4 separate regions of the Homo sapiens genome follow, and all the other regions are linked to region 3. The links are contacts of gene promoters, found by promoter capture Hi-C in blood cells and fetal thymus (Javierre and others, 2016). All regions are on one chromosome and are shown on one strand. Each heading gives the region's core, a stretch centred on a gene start or on the middle of the fragment in contact. The rest is flanking DNA. Distances are from core to core; before and after follow the strand shown. Region 1 overlaps SMCHD1 (structural maintenance of chromosomes flexible hinge domain containing 1). Region 2 overlaps SMCHD1 (structural maintenance of chromosomes flexible hinge domain containing 1). Region 3 holds the start of METTL4 (methyltransferase 4, N6-adenosine). Region 4 overlaps SMCHD1 (structural maintenance of chromosomes flexible hinge domain containing 1).

Evidence for each region. Contacts are between HindIII fragments. The CHiCAGO score rates a contact against its expected background, and 5 or more counts as called.
Region 1: a contact is called between a fragment that was not itself captured here and the fragment with the promoter of METTL4 in region 3, in 1 of 17 cell types (neutrophils). The highest score is 5.0, in neutrophils.
Region 2: a fragment that was not itself captured here is called in contact with the fragment with the promoter of METTL4 in region 3 in 10 of 17 cell types (total CD8 T cells, naive CD4 T cells, non-activated CD4 T cells and 7 more); the score reaches 13.4 in total CD8 T cells.
Region 4: a contact is called between a fragment that was not itself captured here and the fragment with the promoter of METTL4 in region 3, in 8 of 17 cell types (activated CD4 T cells, non-activated CD4 T cells, naive CD4 T cells and 5 more). The highest score is 9.4, in activated CD4 T cells.

The regions. Positions count from the first base shown.
Region 1 is chr18:2,804,277-2,807,771 of GRCh38, reverse strand. SMCHD1 (structural maintenance of chromosomes flexible hinge domain containing 1) reads right to left here. Exons shown (of 48, transcript NM_015295.3): 48 at 2,755-3,495. Among named protein-coding and RNA genes, the nearest start is that of EMILIN2, 41 kb to the left of the region's middle. The HindIII fragment of the contact is 507 bases long and covers 1,398-1,904 here.
Region 2 is chr18:2,729,709-2,733,296 of GRCh38, reverse strand. SMCHD1 (structural maintenance of chromosomes flexible hinge domain containing 1) reads right to left here. Exons shown (of 48, transcript NM_015295.3): 25 at 805-1,032. Among named protein-coding and RNA genes, the nearest start is that of SMCHD1, 76 kb to the right of the region's middle. The HindIII fragment of the contact is 1,741 bases long and covers 708-2,448 here.
Region 3 is chr18:2,570,243-2,573,666 of GRCh38, reverse strand. It overlaps METTL4 (methyltransferase 4, N6-adenosine), which reads left to right and starts at 2,162. Exons shown (of 9, transcript NM_022840.5): 1 at 2,162-2,518. It overlaps NDC80 (NDC80 kinetochore complex component), which reads right to left and starts at 2,110. Exons shown (of 17, transcript NM_006101.3): 1 at 1,984-2,110; 2 at 581-690. The coding sequence starts at 681. RefSeq lists enhancers at 2,105-2,264, 2,147-3,069. The HindIII fragment of the contact is 2,186 bases long and covers 223-2,408 here.
Region 4 is chr18:2,751,727-2,755,560 of GRCh38, reverse strand. SMCHD1 (structural maintenance of chromosomes flexible hinge domain containing 1) reads right to left here. Exons shown (of 48, transcript NM_015295.3): 34 at 3,009-3,073. Among named protein-coding and RNA genes, the nearest start is that of EMILIN2, 93 kb to the left of the region's middle. The HindIII fragment of the contact is 1,697 bases long and covers 1,125-2,821 here.

The DNA.
Region 1 (3,495 bases), core at 402-2,901, 230 kb before region 3:
AGAGTTTCACCATGTTGGTTAGGCTGGTCTTGAACTCCTGACCTCGTGATCCACCTGCCTCGACCTCCCAAAGTGCTGGGATTACAGGCGTGAGCCACCGTGCCCAGCCTGGTCATTTCATTTTCAACCTGAAGAATTTCCTTTAGTGTTTCTTCTGACGTGGGCCTGCTTGCAACTTTGGAGTTGCAATGAATTGTTTATCTTGCAATGAATTGTGTTTATCTAGGAAAGTATTTTTCCTTCATTTCGACAATAGCTTTGCTGGGGATGGAATTATTGATAGTTGTTTTTCCTTAGAGCACTTTGAAATGATAACCCACTGCCATATGGTCTCTATTGTTTTTGCTGAGAAGCTGTTAATCTTATTGGGGCTGTCTTTGTAAGAGATGTGTATTATACTTTTATTCCTGCTGCTTTCAAGATTTTTTCCTTGTCTTTGACTTTCAGAATTTGATGTGTCTATCTGTTGGTCTCTTTGTGGTCATCCTGCTTGAAATTTGTTCAGCTTCCTGGATGTATAGATTATTGTATTCTAATAGTTTTCAGCCATTATGTATTTGAATATTTTTCCTACCTTCTGTGTCATTAAGTGCACATTGCTGCACTTAATGGTGTTCCACATTTCTCTGAGGCTCTATTTTCTTCATTGCCTTTTCTCTCTGTTTTTACATAATCTCTACAATCTGTCTTCAAATTCACCTATTCTCTCTTCTGCCAGTTCAAACCTACTGTTAAGCCCCCTGGTGAATTTTAAAATTTCAGTTATTGCACTTTCTAACTCCAGAATTGCCACATGGTTCTTTAAACATTTCTCTCTCTCTCTATATATATATATCTCAATTATATATACACACACACATAATTTCAACTTTTATTTTAGATATACGGGGTACACATGTGTGGGTTTGTTACATGGGTATATTGCACCCAGGTAGCGAGCACAGTACCCAATAGGTAGTTTTTCAACCCACTCCCACCTCCTCACCCCAGCAGTCCACAGTGTCTATTGTTCCCATGTTTATGTCCATGTGTGCTCAATGTTGAACACCCCCTTATAAGTGAGAACATGCGGTATTTGGTTTTCTGTTCCTGTTAGTTTGCTTAGGAGATATTCTTTATTTGATGAGACACTGTCATAATGTTTACTTCTTTAATCTTTTGTTTAGTTCTGTGAATATATTTATTTATAATGGGTACTTTAATTTTTGGTTAAATCTGACATCTGATCACTCTCACAGGCAGTTTTTGCTGCCTGCTTTATTTCCAGTGTATGAGTCACACTGTTTCTTTGCATGCCTCATACATTTTTGTTGGAAACTGGACATTTTAAATAACATACTGTAGTTACTCTACTAGTTCACCTCCCTCTGGTTTGGTTATTATTATTTGCTTAAGCTTAGTGCCTGGATGGATTATTTTAGTGAAGTCTATCCTTCCCTAATCCCAACAGCGTTGTTTCTCAAGTTCTTCCTCAGGGAGGCACAGCTTTTGGTATGCCCCAGAAATCCTGCGTACTCTCGCGCACTTTTTCCTCTTGACCATATACCCTGTTGTTCAACTCCACTAATTGCTGGCTTACTGTTCTATTGTTTACACTAGTGTAGTCTTTGCAGTCTCACCCTTAAAAGCAGCCTGCCCTGAATCCTTTCTCTCAGGGTGTACTGTCTATCCTGCACTTAACTTTCAAAATATTCTTTCTCCTTTACAATAAATTACTCTATGTTGCACTTCTTTTGCTGTGTGTCTCGAGCTCTCTAGTTTAAACTTCTCATGCTCTTTTTTTAAAAGTCAGTTCCTTTGGAAAGAGATTAAGAGCTACCTGTTTTGTTTTCATCCTACCTCATTTGCAGGCAAAAATCTCTGAGCCAGGGATCTGGAGCTAGAGGTGGGGACAATGGCAAGCTTGAGTTGGCATTCTAGCTCTAGAAGCTGAGTGCAATGGAAGGGGGCAGTAGCCTGAGATCCTCTTGGCTTGCTTTTCCTGGGGTAGAATCCTACTTCACGAGCCAGAGAGTTATCAAGGCCCCAGCAATCTCAGCACATGTGTTCAAGGTTTTGTGGCCTGGTGGGGAGAAGACGGCTCTCACCTGGCCACACTGACCCAGGACTTAGTGCTAGCAAAAGGCAGTTGAAGGCAGGACAAGAATCACTACAGTCTCGCTCCTTTCGGGAAAAAAATTTCTGGCTGGGAGATGGTGGGATAAGGAACCCAGCGTTTTTGGCTGCGTTAGTCTGCTTGCTGAGCTTGGAGGTGGAAGTGAGTAGTCAGTCTTGGTTCAAACTACCACAGATTCTCATCTTCCTTACTGAATTTTTGTAAATGTTCTTGAATAGATGTTTCTTCATTGCCATTTGTCCTCAGGACCATTTCCAGAAGTTTTAAATGGTTGTTTTTAATATTTTTCACCAGTTTCACAGTATGAAAATTAAACATTCAATTTTTTTACTAAAATGTATTATTTGAAAATTCTATACTAAAAATACAATGGAATTAACCCCATCAATTTCATAATGACTATAAAGTAATCAAGTCACAGAGCCAAAGTATAGACAGTTTAGAAGACTGAACTTTCCTTAGCACTAATATTTAACAATAGGAGCCAATTTCACTTAAAATAATCTGAATGTTATATATGCAACAAATTTTAGTCTCTGTAAAGAATCTTATACCAAAAACCCTATAAAAATGTTAAGTAAATTGAGCCTATTTTTACCATAGGCCTGGCCAAATGTACACATGAAAACTGATGAACGTAATGTGCAAAAAGGCTTGGAGAGAGTTTTATTTCAGTTACTTCAAAATACAAGTAGGCTATTATTTTCCTTTGGAAGAAGAAACCAGAAAAAAAACTTCCTGATTGTAACATTGTGACAAATTTCAGATTATATAACACATAACACAGGATAAATGGCTGTAGCATTAATTTTTTTCTCCAGTTACATTCCTTTATACTAAAAGACTAGTATTAAATCTTAGAAGAAAATTTCAATTGTTCTTACGTGTTACATATTAAACACAAAAGCAATTTATTATTATTTGGTACAACATGAACCTCAGTATTTGCTCAAATGTAGAAAAGGATTCCTTAATATGCTGAGAAATATCCTTAGATAAATCCAACTGTGAAAATATAGAAAAACTCCTTACTGTAATTACTGGGAACCACAAAGTTAATTTTTACAGGGTAGAAAAACTCCACAAAAATGGAGATTCATACTTAAAAACCTTCTTTTACTGATAGAACATTCTTTCTGGTATTATAAAATGAACAAAAGTGTACAGATATGGGCTTGGGGCTAGATAATATCCATAGAACTCGCCATTTTAAGCAATAAAAATTGGCATGTGGGTGCATGCCTGTAATCCCTGCTACTTAGGAGGCCAAGGCAGGAAGACTGCTTGAACCCAGGAGTTCAAGACTAGCCTGGGCAATGTAGTGAGGCCACTGTCGCTCAAGGGAAAAAAAGACATGTTTTTAAACACACTTCTAATAA
Region 2 (3,588 bases), core at 329-2,828, 160 kb before region 3:
TGAGTATTGTGCCTCTAGTTTCCATTTTCCCTCATAAGCCCTGTGATTTTTTATTGTACAATTTTGCACAGCAGAGTGATTCTGGAGAATGCATGTGTCTCATTATAGAAGAACAAACTGAACTTTGAAAGAAGCAAGCATAGACTGTCCACTATTCTTTCAGTCAACCATCAAAGGAATGCTAAAAAGCTGTCTACTTTATGTAATAAGACTTAACATTTTGATTTGGCTCCCTGTTCAGTGAGGTGTTAAGTTTCAACATGCAGACTCAACCCTATCAAGGTACAAATGTCATATTTAGATGACAGCAGGTTGATGAGGACCAACAAAACTCTTTTCTAAGGATCATATTTTTAGAGTGGTATACCAATTTCAATAATTTCCAATGGCCAAATAGAGGCTCTGTAGTTAACAACACTGTTTCACTGCTTGCCTTTAACAGATCTTTTGTTTAGTGCTTTCAGAACTGCTACCAATTTATTGCTAGCTTTATCAAGGTGGTGATGTTGATTATGATTGCAGAAAAACAGCTAGTCAGGAAGAGCACAACTAAACAAAATGCCAAAACCTAGATTTTTAAGTGTCAAAATCATTTTTCTAAGTATAATTTTGTCACATATGAATCATTTGCATTTCAACCTATTCCATGAAAAAAGCTTATTCTGCTTACAATTTGAAATGATAGTATAACTTTTCTGTGACAAGCTTCTTTTTTAGATGCTACCCATAAAACGGCTTGTTCAGTCTTACAAACATAAAATTTAAAAAGTTCTTACAAATAACCAATCTGTTAGAGATACTTACTTTAATTTTTTCTGCTAAAGCTGATGTTATATTGATTTCTCTTTCTCCTTCATCATACATTTGAAAAATAAGATTATGCATAATATCACCCGCTATCCAATTAACCTCATCCTGATGTTTGATCTGAATTGCCTTTTGTCCTTCTACACTGAATATTTGTAGTCTTGCAACATGGCTACTGGGAAGCAACTTAATAGTCTTCTCCACAGGTGCCACATCTTTACAACTCTAGAAAGAGAAGAAAACACAAACACTGAGTGATATCTGTACTGAAATTTTACACTCCTGAAGAATTTACTTTCAATATTATGGAAGACCATCTCATACATTGTTATACTCACAGGTTTTGTCATTAAGATGGCATTATACTATTAATAATTCCGTATTTTATACCATCAGGTTATAAATGGCAGTGGCCACATTCTTAAAATAAAAACAATTGTATGTGGACTAAAAGGATTCCCCTCCTTTTTATTTTTTTTGAGACAGAGTCTCACTTTGCCTCCTAGGCTGGAGGGCAGTGGCATGATCTTGGCTCACTGCAACCTCTGCCTTCTGGGTTCAAACTACTCTCCTGCCTCAGCCTCCAGAGTAGCTGGGATTACAGGCGCCTACCACCATGCATGGATAATTTTTGTATTTTCAGCAGAGATGGGTTTCACCACGTTGGCCAGGCTGGTCTCAAACTCCTGACCTCAGGTGATCCACTGGCCTCGGTCTTCCAAAGTGCTGGGATTACAGGCATCAGCCACTGCGCCCGGTCCCTTCCTCTTATTTCCAAGTTTCTTTAAAAGTATTGCCATCTTGTGAAATTTTAATTATGTTACATACTCTGTTAGTATTTATGAATAAGAACAAAGATGTAAGAAATTAAGAACTTTCCATAAAATCAGAGACAAACAGCTACCATAAAATACATTATTTAATGGTAACAGATTACATTAAGGCTTTCAGTATTTTTTCAATTCATAACACATTGGGGTAAGTGATCAAGGTTGTTTATAGCCAGAGAAGGCCTCTAGATGCCCTGAAGACAACTGGTCAACATATTGGCATATTTACAATTTATTATTGGCATACCAGTGTTCTACAGATCAAAGAAAAGACCAAGATTATGCTATATAAATTGATTTTAGGCACACAAAATTAAAATATTACATTATTTCATAATCTAGTTATAGTCCATTCAACAGCACACACTAAATTTAAAATAAGTTTAAACATAAAATACCTTTATAATCTTACTTAACTCATGTCTCCTTCCTCATCCAGTTGCAGCCATTTAACTTATGGAAGCCTATCCACGTGAGTGATATTAAAAATTCCTACCTCATGGAATGTCAGGCACATAACCATCTTCTGTTGTATCTTACTTGCCTTACTCCTAAACTCAGTTATTGCCATTGGATAACATTTTGTAACTGCCTATTAGAGGATTTACGTTGGCATTTGTTTTAACTGACCTGAATTCTTGGTCTTCTCCTGAGTGGTCTGTAGTATTTACAAAAGTCCTAATGCCTGCTGCTCTTGCCTCCAAGTCCAGATTCCTCCCTAATTCATAGTCATCTTTTGCAAGAAAGTGTGCTCAAAAGTATGTTGCCCATATTATTGCATAAAGAAAATGCATAAAAAATACTTTAAGCTTATCAAATATAACAAGCTTAAAAAGAACTGGAATGAAGAGTCATCTCATTCTAATTTAAAAAGTAAAAGACATCTTGTATCCATTTGAGGTTCAAGCTATGTTAATAACTGATGTATAATTAGTAGGAAAGTATGAGTTAATCAACCAATTAGATTATCTATCACCATATCAATTACTAAGAAATCACATTTAAGTATTTTACTTAAGTATCTGTTACCCTACTCAGCAACCTTTGAAGTTTTACTTAAGTATTTGTTATCCCACTCCACAACCTTAGATTGTTTACAGCTCTTGCCTCCATGTTGGCTTTGCTATCAGCCACGATGAATCACCAATAAAAAGCATCCTACTGGCACATGATATAGAAATCCCTTTGTGGGCCAGGCACGGTGGCTCACGCCTGTAATCCCAGCACTTTGGGAGGCCGAGGTGGGTGGATCACGAGCTCAGGAGGTCGAGACCATCCTGGCTAACACGGTGAAACCCCATCTCTACTAAAAATACAAAAAATCAGTCAGGCGTGGTGGCGGGTGCCTGTAGTCCCAGCTACTGGGGAGGCTGAGGCAGGGGAATGGCGTGAACCCAGGAGGCAGAGCTTGCAGTGAGCTGAGATCGTGCCACTGTACTCCAGCCTGGGCAACAGAGCAAGATTCCATCTCAAAAAATATAAATAGAAATAAAAAAAATCCCTTTGTGTAAAAACACAAATAAAAAGCTATGTGTGTATAGAAAATTACATACAAAAATTAAAGGTTTATATGTCCTTCCATGGTGGTTTAAACAGAGATATTTACCAAGCTTTCTAAAACAAATGAGAACGATAAAAAGCAAAATGGCTGGGCACAGTGGTGCACACCTATAACTTCAGCACTTTGGGTGGCCAAGGTGGGAAGACTGCTTGTGGACAGGAAGTTGAGATCAGACTGGGCAACACAGCAAGACCCTCTTTTTCAAAAAATAAATAATAAATAAATAACCAGGTGCATTGGTCCTTGTCTATAGTCCCAGTTACTTGGGAGGCTGAGGTGAGCACATCACTAGAGCTTAGGAGTTGGAGGCTGCAGCAAGTCATGATTGTGCCACTGCACTCCAGCCTAGACAACAGAGTGAGACCCTATCTCTTTAAAAAAAAAAAAAAG
Region 3 (3,424 bases), core at 913-3,412:
ACTAGAGAAGAATTATACAGCTCTACAATGGCTTACAAATAGCCTTCTCTTATCTGGAAGATAATCACTCATAATGAAAAACTATAGTTTATGACAGCAGGTTCTTTCAGATATTTTTCCAGCAAATCTTGAGGAAAGAGTTCGGAGGAGTGGTGTTTTGTAGGCTGCTACTATATTATACCTTATGAGAGCAAATAATTTTGCTCTGATTTGATTGAAGCTTTGCTAATTGGAAATATCTCAGTGAACTCTAAGTTACAGCACAGAGCCTGCTTAAACAAGTAGCTCTAGAATAAAAGAGAAAAATAAGAGAGTACTGAACAAGAATTAACAGTCCTTTTAGGGGGTGCCTGGTAAAGCATTTGGCTTTGGAAATTTGTGAAACAAATGACACAAACAACACCTAGCAGAGTATCATGCCCACTTTTAGATTTCATTGATCCAAAATTAGGTACCCCTGGGAACAGACAAGATTCACCAAGACATCACTCATATTACATCTTTATATTAACTATTTCTTATGATTTCTTTGCCTAAGATGATAAAGCATGCAAATTAGAACCACAAGGGAAATACTCACGTTTGAGGGGTATAGAGGCCTTGTTTATTTACATCCTGGGATCTTAACTCCTGCATGGAGAGGCGGCCAGCACCACCGCTGGAAACTGAACTGCGCTTCATGCTTATGACCTACATTCACGAATTCAGTATTTAAAAAAAACTTTCCAGACAGAGATGGTACATTAAGCAACTATTTATCCTTAAACAGAAAGACAGTCAGGTTTCATTGTTTCTTCAAGATCATCATCTTTCCCCTGGGGTATCTCTTTTTTGTTCATGTACACTGAAGTTCTCATTTGCAAGGAACATCTATTTAATTCCATTTAAAAATATTCAACATAAACATTTATTAACTGCCCACTATATATATAGGGGAGTGTGCTAGGCAATGCAGGAGATGCAAAGACGAGTAAGTTACGGTTTTTGCCTTCACAAGGGTATCCGTGGTAGCTAAAGCCCTGTCTGTTACCCAGACCACATTACTGCTGTTGGCTGTGCCTATTTCAATAGGAAGACAAAAAAATTACCTCAAATTCTCTTATTCACCTCAAAATGTTTCCTTTTCTTTGGTTTCAGAGAATGGAATTATTCTGTTTTCCTAATGTCAATCTCTCCTGCTCTGTCCTTAACCCATTGTTTCCTCAATTACTGCCCTTTTGGCATCAATCTCCCCTTCAACAAGGATAAATCATCCGGTCCATAAAATGGTCTATAGGCTGCCTCCATTTACAAACCACATTAACAGGTCACTCCCTTCACATCTGCTAAAAAATTTGTCTCCTAGGATACACATGATTGACAAAACTTTTGATCCTGTCTCATCTCTGCACCCAGCCTTCTCAGGTCCTGCCCTGGCTTTCAGGAAGGTGACAATCCTTTTACTTCTCTGGGTACTCCTTAGTCTTTTACACTGATTAGACTCTTCTTGATTTTGGCCGCCTATTTCCTCTTCAATATGCGCTTGTTCATCTATTCAACTTTTCCACTCACACCTGTGTGTCCACGTTTAATCTCCACTTAGAATGTAGCTCTCATGATTTAAGATGAAGACTTCTACACGCAGTCCTACACGGCCATAAGAAGCTACACTAGTATTCAGACGCAACCCACCCAACGAGTCCTCTCTTGTCCATCTCTTTCCGCCCCCTTCAATTCTTCCCCGTTTCCTCTCCCGAGCCTCCACTCCTCATCAGTGTCCCCCAGGCCCTCCCCTTTCCTCCTTGGGAAATCGTTGCCACTAGAAATTTAATAGATCCCGTGAAACCAGCGCCTCGCACAGTTTTGGCCTCGAGGCTTCTCCCAACAGCAAACAAACACCAAAACATCGCCTCAGGACCTCTAAATTTAAGTCATTGGCGCCATCACTTTCTTCCTCCAGAACAGCTCTGCAGAAACAAAGTTAATCCGATGTCATTCAGTCACCTTTTTTCCAGTTTCCTGACACGACCCAGGGACCGAATTTCTGTAAACCGTGCAAGTATCTGCTAGACAGGACAGCGGTCATCAAAACACCAGGTCCTTCCTCGGCCCGCCAAAGCCGTTCGAATTTGAAATTCTCCGCCGGCGCTGACGTCATTACGCACGACGCGCGCAGTAACTTCCATGCGACCGCCTCGTCGCTGGAAGGCTGCGTGCTGGTCGCGCCCAGCTGCGTCACCCCAGGAACTGGGGTCTGTGGGCCAGTGTGGCCGTCTCTACGAAGACTGGCACGACCCCTAAAGTTAGGTCGGAAGACCTGTGGGCAGCTTGAGCGCCGAGGAGTGCCCTGAACGCTCAACTCGCCCTGGAAACGTTTTTCCGTACAGCAACATGGCGGCGCCCATGGACTCTTAGAAAAGGAGAAAGCTTTTTCTCTGTGGACTGGAAGGGGCATTTTTCATGATCACTATTTAGATGGGTGCTGTTTTCATGAGGAGAGTCTGGGAAGGCGGCGTCCGCTTTTCTGACAAGGGAAGAGGTGAGGTGGGAGAGGGGCTGCGGAGTGGGTGGAATGGGCTCCCAGGATTGCGTTGGTACGGCTGCCGAAATTCGGGCTCAGTATTTGATCACTTGCCGGAGGCTCACGGTCCTCTGGTGGTGGCTGACCTGTGAGAGGCTAGGAAGAATCCAAGTGTTTGGGGGCGGGCGGCGAGGGAGTGGATGTGAAGCAGAGACGCAGGAGAGGGGTGCACTAACAACAGTAACAGTAGATCACTTTGCTAAAATAGGATTTCCTCGCTGCTGTGAGTTTGAATCCAGAAACAGGCACTGCCCGGTACCTGGAGAGTGGTGGTGATGAAAGATCTCACAGCTCCAGGAAGTCTGGATACTTGGGTCTGGTAGCAATTGTGCCATTAACTAGCGTTGTTATTTTTGGGCAGCTTGCCTTTCTGCTCTGAGTTTCAATTTTCCCGTCTGAATTTCTAGCTCTCACTAGCCATTCCAGGACCCTTTTCACCTCAGCTGTGGCCTATGAAGGGGATGGGGAGGAACCAAGGATTATATTAATATAAAAATTATATGAAAATTAGGCAACCGTCTGATAATAAAAAGTCTCCTTGTGGAATACTGTTAGGTTAAACTTTACCTACAGATTGTTAAATCCTTAGCACTAATGTTTTCCCCAGAAAAGATTAATGGAAACATCATTTGCTTTTCTGACTAGATAGTTGCTGCTTCCAAAGGTGGTTTTACACAAATACAAAATTAAAAACACCTTTAGTACAGAAATAATTGCTTGTATTTCGGTATACATTCACAGTACAGTTCAGCATTTAGTGGTCCTGCTAGCAATTTGCCAGGAAGTCAAGCCTGCCAATTTCCTGATATTCCTGCTGTGCACCCCAACTTCTTAATCCCTGCTGAGGATCTTGAGAAGCAGCAG
Region 4 (3,834 bases), core at 724-3,223, 180 kb before region 3:
AAAGAAAAAGAAAATACACAAAAACTGGAAAATAACAAACCTACTATTATAAATCCTAGACATTTTTCTTAAATCCCAAAGAATCTACAAATAAAATCAGAGCCAGGAGTGGTGGCTCACATCTGTAATCCCAGCACTTTGGGAGGCTGAGGTGGGAGGATTGCTTGAACTCAGGAGTTCAAGACCTGCAATGAGACCTTGAGTCCACAAAAATTAAAAAATCAACCAAGTGTGGTGGTGTGGGCCCATAGTCCCAGCTAGTTGGTAGGCTAAGGCCCAAGAGTTTAAGACAAGCCCAGACAACATAGTAAGACCCTGTCTCCACAAAAAATAAAATCATAAGTCAGGCGTAGTGCTGTGGGTCTGTAGTCCCAGCTGCCTGAGAGGCTGAGGTAGGAAGATTGCTTGAGCCTGGGAGGTCAAGGCTACAGTGAGCCATGATTGCACCACTGCACTACAGCCTGGGTGACATAGTGAGACCCTGTCTCTAAATTAATTAATTAATTATTTAAAATAAGAAATGAAGGAGTTTAACAAAGATAACTGCTACAAGGTCAATATACATAAATCAATTGCATCTCTCTAACCAAAAACAACAGAAAATAAAAATGTTTTAGGAGATATCATTTACGATGGACCTCATGTGATCTGCCTGCCTCTGCCTCCCAAAGTGCTGGGATTATAGGTGTGAGCCACCGCACCTGGCCTCACACTATACATTAAAAAAAAAAAAAATCAATTCCACGTATAACTGTATAAAAAGAACACAGCAAACCTAAAGTGCTATCCTTAGAAGCACTTGTCTGCTTGCAAGATGGGCCCTTCGCAGACATCTGTGAGTTTAGATTTCAGGAGGGTTCTCACCTTTAACTGATATGAGTGGCTCACATTGCCTAAACCACTGCACTAATATGGTTTATGCTACACACTTGCTTTTCTTCTGAAAATCTGGTATTTGCTAGGCAGAGGCTGCCTATGTGACCACACCCTAACAAAAACCCTGAATGCTGAGTCCCCAGTGAGCTTCCCTGGTTGACAACATTTTATACGCATTGTCACAATTTATTGTTGGGGAATTAAGCACATACTCTGTGACTTCACCAAGACAGAATCCTTGGAAAGCTTCCTCTGTGTCTGCTTTCCCTTGGACATCACCCCATGAGCTTTTTACCTTGCTCATTTCACTTTGAATCCTTTTGTTTCAATAAAACATAGCTATGAGCCCAGCTATATATTAAGTCCTGTGAGTCCTCCTGGTGAATCATCAAACCTGGCATTGGTATTGGGAACCCCCAACACAATAATATAGTAAAATGTGTTGATGACCTAAATGTAAGGAAAGACTTAAACAGGACACAAAGAAGATCAACTATAAAAAAGATGATTAACACATTTGCTTATATAAAAATTAACCACTGCTGTTCAAGATATCATAAAATGAGAAAGCAAGCCACAGGATAGGCAAAGATGTCTAAACAAAAGGCTTGTATCTCTAATATATAAAGAACTCCTACAAATTAATATAAAAAATAATACAAAAGTTATTAAGATACTCAAAAAAGGCACTTCACAAAAGGTAATCTAAGTGGCCAATAAATATATGATAAACAGGGAAATGCAAATTAAGAGTAAGTGTGATGCCACTCTATTACATGTCCACCAGAAGATTACACCTGAAAAGACCCACAAAACCGTGTTGGGAAGGGCCGGGCACGGTGGCTCATGCTTGTAATCCCACCATTTTGGGAGGCTGAGGTGGGCAGATGGCTTTGAGCTCAGGAGTTCGAGACTAGCCAGAGCAACTTGGTGAAACCCAGTCTCCACACACACACAAAATAAATAAATAAATAAATTTGCTGGGCATGGCAGCACATTCCTGTAGTCCTAGCTACTTGGGAGGCTGAGGCAGGGGGCTCGCTTGAGCCAGGGAAGCAGAGGTTGCAGTGAGCCACTGCACTCTAGGCATTGCACTCTAGCAAGGCTATGTATTAAAAAGAAATAAACCCTCAAGCTACTCAAGTTAAACACACACATCTATGTTTAACATCTATATTTAACATCTAACATACACATCTATATTTAAATATACACATCTATGAACTTATGACCCAGCAATTTTACTTTTATATGAGCACCAGTGTTATAAAGATTATTTGTAATAGCCCAAAATTGAAAATGCAAATAGCCATTAACAGAATGGAAAATAGTAGTGTGTTCACACAATGGACTTCTATACAGCAATGGAAATGAATGAATTTATAGCTATATGCCACAGAATCTCATGATGCTGAGTGAAAGAAGTCTTATGCAAAGGAAAATAATTGTATATCAAGTTCAAAAATGGGCACAACTAAATCAGAGACTATAGAGATGTATGCTAAGATAAACGGAACTCTAAATAAGACCAAATCAGGAGAGGGTTTGTGGTGTGTGCATGTGTGTGTCTACATGAGTGTGTGCATGGCATGCACAACAGGAAGGAAGACGGTAATAACTGGAAGAGGTAAGGGGTGGAGCTTCCATGATTGGTCCTTTACCAATTAGTCTGAAAAAGCACTGAACAAATATAATGAGCATTTTGACCCTATTGATGATAAAGGATTTGTAAAGAAACTTAACACATAATGTTTTTAGATTTGAAAATGGAGGTCCAGAATGAAGCAGCAACATGCTCAAAGTCACAGAAATGTTAAAAGCCAGTCTAATCTTTATAGAAACCTCCTATATAATAAGAAGTTATAAAGTGCCCTGACAACATAAAAGAATTCTTCTGATGGCTTCGATAGTTTCAAAAGCAAATACAATTACAATTTACAAAGCTTAAAACCAATTTAATGCTTAAAAACGAAAACACACCTTTTCCCAAAAAACTGAGAAAAATTTAGAGACACTAACATTTCTATTTGATCATAAATTACTTTTCCTCAGGTGAGCCCACATATATCTCCAGGGTTGAATTACTTTGTAACAAGATATGTATTCAAAATATGAAATGTTTTGAGAAATACCTGAAATAGAAGCAGCCATCTTCTTTGTCATTATCTTTTATTTTATTACAACTAAATGTTTCTGCCTAGAAAGGGGAGTAGGAGAGAAGGGGAGAGGGGAAAATGACAAAATTTAACATAGTATACTTAGGAGGAAAGCTTATTATATACCTAAACTGAATGTGTATCTGGATTCCATTTATAAACATACAGGTATATATACACACGTTTATATCTTCATAATACATGTAAGGTACAATGTGAGATTAGTGACAGTGGAAAGACACCCCATTATTAAAAGACACACAGTAGAACTTTATGGTGATATTATTTAAAGATAATACCAACTTGATTGGACTGATGGTCTAAATTAAGCAAGCAAAGATTCAGGATTAATTAAGCAAGATAGTTTCCAAAACCAATGATTAAAATGAACCATAAATGTTGAAGTAGATTATTATATCAGGACACTGATAAACTTTAGTTCCCAATTTTAGATTTATTTCAGATCTGCATTATCCAATATGGTAGCCAATGGCTATGTGTGACTACTGGGCACTTGAAATGTGGCTGGTCTGAACTGATATACAGTGTAAAATAAACACCAAATTTCATAGACTTGGTAAGATAAAAGAACGTAAAATCCTAGCAATAATTTTTAAACTATTGAATATATGTTGAAATGGTAACTTTTGATATATTAGGTTAAAAACATTAGAATTTTACTTATTTCTTTTTAGCTTTTAAATGTAGCTACTAGAAAGCAGAAACACCAGGTATGATCTTTCCACTGGACAGCACTGTTCTAGACCCTCTAACTCTCCACTCTCTTTCAAGCAGTCTATCA